2 separate regions of the Homo sapiens genome follow, and region 2 is linked to region 1. The links are contacts of gene promoters, found by promoter capture Hi-C in blood cells and fetal thymus (Javierre and others, 2016). All regions are on one chromosome and are shown on one strand. Each heading gives the region's core, a stretch centred on a gene start or on the middle of the fragment in contact. The rest is flanking DNA. Distances are from core to core; before and after follow the strand shown.

The links. Contacts are between HindIII fragments. The CHiCAGO score rates a contact against its expected background, and 5 or more counts as called.
Region 2: a fragment that was not itself captured here is called in contact with the fragment with the promoter of OSBPL10 in region 1 in 2 of 17 cell types (naive B cells and total B cells); the score reaches 6.8 in naive B cells.

The regions. Positions count from the first base shown.
Region 1 is chr3:31,979,829-31,982,528 of GRCh38, forward strand. OSBPL10 (oxysterol binding protein like 10) reads right to left here and starts at 1,434. Exons shown (of 12, transcript NM_017784.5): 1 at 1,071-1,434. The coding sequence starts at 1,351. ZNF860 (zinc finger protein 860) reads left to right here and starts at 1,922. Exons shown (of 2, transcript NM_001137674.3): 1 at 1,922-2,074. RefSeq lists a silencer at 1,124-1,193. The HindIII fragment of the contact is 3,310 bases long and covers 1-2,503 here.
Region 2 is chr3:31,802,341-31,805,401 of GRCh38, forward strand. The region is part of intron 4 of OSBPL10 (oxysterol binding protein like 10); the gene reads right to left. Among named protein-coding and RNA genes, the nearest start is that of OSBPL10-AS1, 100 kb to the left of the region's middle. The HindIII fragment of the contact is 1,914 bases long and covers 518-2,431 here.

The sequences.
Region 1 (2,700 bases), core at 184-2,683:
ACAGCCCCATCCTTCCACGTGTCCATAACTAGGCTTCTCAACTGCAAGGGGGAAGTGAGCAGGAAACTTCAAATGGGACCTGAAGAGGAAATAATGATAATAATGTAAATTGCTACTAATATTAAAAGGGGGAGGGTATTTTTTCTTTCTTTTTATTATTTTATTTTATTTTATTTTATTTATTTATTTTTTTTGAGTCGGAGTCTCGCACTGTCGCCCCGGCTAGATTGCAATGGCGCGATCTCGGCTCACTGCAACCTCTGCCTCCGGGGTTCAAGCGATTCTCCTGCCTCAGCCTCCGGAGTAGCTGGAATTACAGGCGCGCCGCCACGCCCGGCTAATTTTTTTTGTTTTTAGTAGAGACGGGTTTTCACCATGTTGGCGAGGCTGGTCTCGAACTCCTGACTTCGTGATCTGCCCGCCTCGGCCTCCCAAAGTACTGGGATTACAGAGGTGAGCCACCGCGCCCGGCCTCTTTCTGTTTTTAAACAAAACTTCCATTACAAACATCGGAGGCTGCAAGGCACAAACTGGGGCAGGAGTATGCACAGTCGCCCAGGATGACAAGTGGCAGGTTTTTTGTTGATGGTGGTGGTGTTCTGAAACACCAAACTTTAAAATGAACTGTTACTTAGAGAATTACTGTAATCGGAGCGGACGTGCTAACGCTTTTTCACCCCGGCACAAAGCACGCCCCTTCTGCCTCCCTTTCCCAGTCATTCTTCAGGCGTGCGGGAAACCGCGGACAAGCAGAGCACGGGGACCAGCACGATCCTCCTGCCACCACTCCAGTCTCTGCAGGTGCCAGCATAGAAGAAAACCAGGGCTCTCGCCTCCCTCCCCGCCACTGCGGTGCGGTCCCGGGGTGGAGCCACGGCGCGCCCCATCCTGAGAACCCCACCTGGAGGGGAGCAGGGACGCAGGAAGGGCACCGTTGGGAGGCATCACTGGGTTCGCTGAAGGCACAATCGCGCGCGCACACACATACACAGACACACATACACACACGCACGCACACACACACACACACACACAGCGGCGCGCGGTGGCGCGGGCGGCTGGCGCGTTACCTGTTCTGCCAGCCCTGGAGGAGGTTGGTGTATTTGCTGAGCACGCCCTCGAGCGCCGGCTCCCTCCTGCGGCCGCCTCCCCCGGACGGGCTAGCGGCCACAGAGCCCGGGCTGCTGCGGCTTCCCCCGCCGCCGAGCCCGGCCGCCGCCGACCGGCTGGAGACCCCCCGGCCCGCCAGAGAGCAGGAGGGCGAGGAGCCCGCCGAGGTAGCACGGCTGCTGCTGCGGCTGCTGCTGTTGCTACCCCCGCCGCCGTCTGTGCCCTGGACTGCCCTCTCCATGGTCCGTGGGCGCCCGGGACGCGGGTGCCCGCCGCGGTGGCGGCCCCGGCACGGCGGCTGCTGCTGCTGCTACAGCTCCGGACGCCCGGGCCGCGCGTGCCTGCTCCAAATCCCCGGGAAATGCCTGACTCATACAGGAGGAAGAGGAGGAGGAGGCGAAGGAGAGCTGGGAAGGAAGCCAACGGGGCTGGATGCAGCTGCGGCCGCCCCTCCTCCCGCCGCGGCCAGGGCCCGGCCCCTCCCTCCGCACTAGTTTCCCGGGCAAGTTCGGAGCGGGTGGCCGGCTAGGCGAGCCCTCTTCGGGTTCCTCCTTCTCTTCCTTCGTGTCCCTGCGGCCTCTCAGGCCCTCGGGACACTCTAGGAGGCCGATCTGCAGGGTGGGCACGCCCTAAATCCACGCCAAGTCACCCACGCATTCCTTCTGCCACCCTCTCTTGGATCCGAAGGGGCGAAAGGGAATCTCTGCACGTCACTCCCCACCCCTTATCCACCTCGGGACCTGGAGGGAGGGGCAGCCCCACCCACCCGGTCCACCCGGATATGGACCCGCCCGGCCTGACAGGCTCACACGCACACTCCCTCTCTCGGTCTTCCGCACACGATGCTGCGCCAGACGCTCCTACACAGTAACCTGGAAATTATCACCGGCGGAGCAAAGTCACAGCTCAGGGAGGCCCTCCGCGTTGTCTGGCGGAGGAGGGGAGTGGCAGGTGATCCTCACAGGTAAGCTCGCCGGGCATTTTCATGCAGCAGGATTATGATAAATGCTTAACAGACACACGGCTGGGCTGGGGTGAGGCGCGCGAACTCTCAGGTTTGTGCGAGTGCTTCCTTAAATTGAGTGTCCTAGGTCACTCACTGGCCTAACCCTAATCCCCTGCCCTGAATGGCACGCATAAACCTGGCAAGTCAAAACCTATCCATTGCTACCACACTGCACGTGCACCTAGGAGCAGAGGCTCTGAAACCGGGAAAACTGCTCCAGAGGCAAGGGAAATTAACAGATATTTACAAACATTGAAGGATTCTCTGTGTTGGCTGTAACTTCTGCGCCCCTCTTCCTACCTAAAGATACTCTTTCTATCCCACTAATATTTTTTGTGAATATAGATATCCATTGTAATCTGAAGTATCAAAAATTACCTAGAAAAAAGCTTTGAGGAACTCAGACTCTCTCTCTCACACACACACAGACAAAACAAAAGGTGATAGATGATAGGTGATCTCCGTCCAAAGGATCTACAAACCCATCAAGCAGATAAATACTTCAAGAGTTAAAAAAAATTACTAAATGGAAAAGTCAGCTCTCAAAGGGACAGTTCCCCGAGCCCAACCCCTTTCTAGCTTCA
Region 2 (3,061 bases), core at 225-2,724, 180 kb before region 1:
TGAGGTCAGGAGTTCAAGACCAGCCTGGGCAACATGGTGAAACCCCATCTCTACTAAAAAAAAAAAATTACAAAAATTAGCCAGGCATGGTGGCGGGCACCTGTAATCCCAGGAACTTAGGAGGCTGAGGCAGGAGAATCACTTGAACCCAGGAGGTGGAGGTTGCAGTGAGCCAAGATCATGCGCCACTGCACTCTAGCCTGGGTATCAAAAAAAAAAAAAAAAAAAAAAGAGAATTCTCTGGATTGTACCAAGACAGTGGAAGACTCCTCTCTCTCTCCTGGTATTAATTCCCCTTCTTTTCAACAATTCCGGCCTGCCTCCAGCTCTTAGTAGGGCATTTTGTTGCCTAGCCTCACTTGCACTTAGAGGCGTGACCAAGCGGCCAAGTTCCTGCAAACGGATCCTGAATAAAAGTGAAATCCATTAAAAACAAGAGTACATTCCTCTTTCTTCCTCTTTTCCCACTACTTGGAAAAAGGTGACAACTGGATAGCCAGGGTTGACCCAGGATGGAAGCTTGTGCCAGTGATCAAAGAGCCACCCAGTCAGCTCTAGTTGGTCACCTCTGGTCCATCTACAAGGGAATAACAAACTTGTACCTTATTTAGACAATGGTATTGGGTCCTTTTTTTTTTTTTTTTTTTTTTTACAGCATCTAAGTCTGAGCTGAACTAATATACTGTTCTAGTCTACAAAGTGGCTTTTCTAAAATCACACATGATTCAGTGAGAATCCCCTGAATAATTTTTTGTGAATCAATGAGAACAGTGTGTAACATCGGCTCCACCCAGACGTGACCTTTTCAAAAGAAGAAGGCAACAAGAAAGTGGCTTCTGATGGTTCCACTTCCACATGCCAAGCAAAGCTCTACCAGGCCAATGACTAGTTACAGCCCCCCTTCTCCCCAGAGAGGCGCTGGCCTGAGGTCAGCTGAAGAGGCTAAGGTCTTCTAGGGAGGAACAGTGATATCCAGCCTTCAGGGGATAAGACTGCCAAGTCTATAGCACCGTGACAGAACAAAAGAGCACCTTCTCACATGCTTCAAAGCCCCTCTAAGTCCCTGGCAGAACCAGGGACGTTTATAACCATCTTCCTTCAAACCAAAAGTACCTCACATGTATGATGGGTATTTCAAAACATTTTACTTTAAAATAATTTTGGACTTACAGAGATGTTGCAAAAATCATATGGCATTTTTGTATACCCTTTGCGCAACTTCCCCTAAGGTTAACATCTTACATAAAAGTAGTTATTCAAATGAAGAAATTTATATGGACAAAATACAACTACCTCAATCTACAGACCTTGTTTTCAGTTTTCCCACTAATAGCTTTTTTTTCTGGTCCAAGATCCAAACCGGGATCCCATGTTGCATTTGACTATTATATCTCCTTTAATCTATCATACTTTTTAAAAGTCCAAGCCAGTTATTTTCAAAATGTCCCTAGTATTTCCTAGATTGGGGTCATGTGCACTTTTGGTAAGAATAACACAGAGGTGATGTTGTACCTTCTCAATGCATCATATTTGGTGGTACATGTTTTTATGTCTTTATTACTGGTGGTATTAACCATGATCACTTGGTTGCGGTGGTGTCCACTAGTTTTCTCCTCTGTAAAATAACTGTTTTCTCTTTGTAAAAAAATAAGTATTCTACAGGGAGATACTTTGAGACTATTCACATATCCTGTTTTTCATCATAGTTTCACCTAACATTAGTGTACATCAATGGTTCTGACCTGCAACAATCATTACTATGATGTTTGCTCAATGGTGATCTTTCATTTCCCTCATTATTCTACATTTATTAGTTAGAAGTCTATTTTAAGGAAGAGCTTTTACTCACCCCACCCCATGTATTTGTTCATCCTATTATTTATATCAACACGAATCATGTATATTTATGTTATTCTAAGGGTTGAAATCCAATACTATCAACATCACAGATTTTTAATCCTGATAATAATTCTGATATTATCTCCGTTTTACAGATTAGAAAAACGAGGCAAGGAGAGGTTAAAAAACCCTGCTTGAGGGCACTCAGCTAGTCAGTAGCAAAGATGCAAAAGCCAGTTCCACTGACTTACAAGTAAGCAAATGACCCAGCCTCTAGGGTAAACAAACTGATGTCATCATCAATCAGCAAAAAAGCAGAATGTGATCTAACAATGAAGGAGACCCGTATTAGGACAGAAGGGGAGAGAAAAATATCTGAAGCCCTTCATTTTAACAACCAAAGTTACTTAGTCCAAAATTACTGGCCATCTTCCCAGACAAGCACCATTAAAGGTAGAGCTCCCCATCCCACAGTGGCCATAACGTAACAGCGCCTACCAAACGCGCTTCATGAGGACAAGATGTAATTTTACCAAAACACGAAGTGCTGACTGCCAACAGCAATAAACAGCAGCATTCGTGATCTAAATGAAGCTTTTAAAATTAAGCTTTTTCAGAAGTTACTCAACTTTAATAAGACTTCATTCACTTTCCCAACTACTAAATCTGCTTTGGTTTGCAATTTTTTTTTAGCTGTTTAAATGGTCAAGGTCCTTACTTTGTGTGTCTGTTTGGTGGGAATGATTTTAATTCAAACAAACAACACTGTCTCCAAGGGAGCATGTTTTATATTCTCACTATTACACCTGGCTTTCCCTATGGTTTTCAAAATCATTGACAAAATTCGTAATTATTATTTTAATGTAAAAGGTGCTCAGGGTCTGATGTATCTGAGCATGCTGAGCTTCAAGACTTTGTCTTGATTACACTTTAAATGAACTGGTATGAGTTTGCAGTTTCTTTAAAAATGAACCATGCAAGCTTTTTCACGGAAGGTATTTCTGACTCCTCCTTTGAGATGAACCTTTAAAACAAAATTCACAACCTGTCAACACATTACATATGTTAACCCTTTCTGAGAATTTGCAATGCTCTCTCCTCACACCAGGTCCTTGCACCTATTACCAGAAATGCTGGTCTCAAAGAATGACTAAATATAGTCGTATCTCTCTCTACTGCATTCCCATGCTCTCATCCACAGTGCCCTTCCAGAAGCTCATGG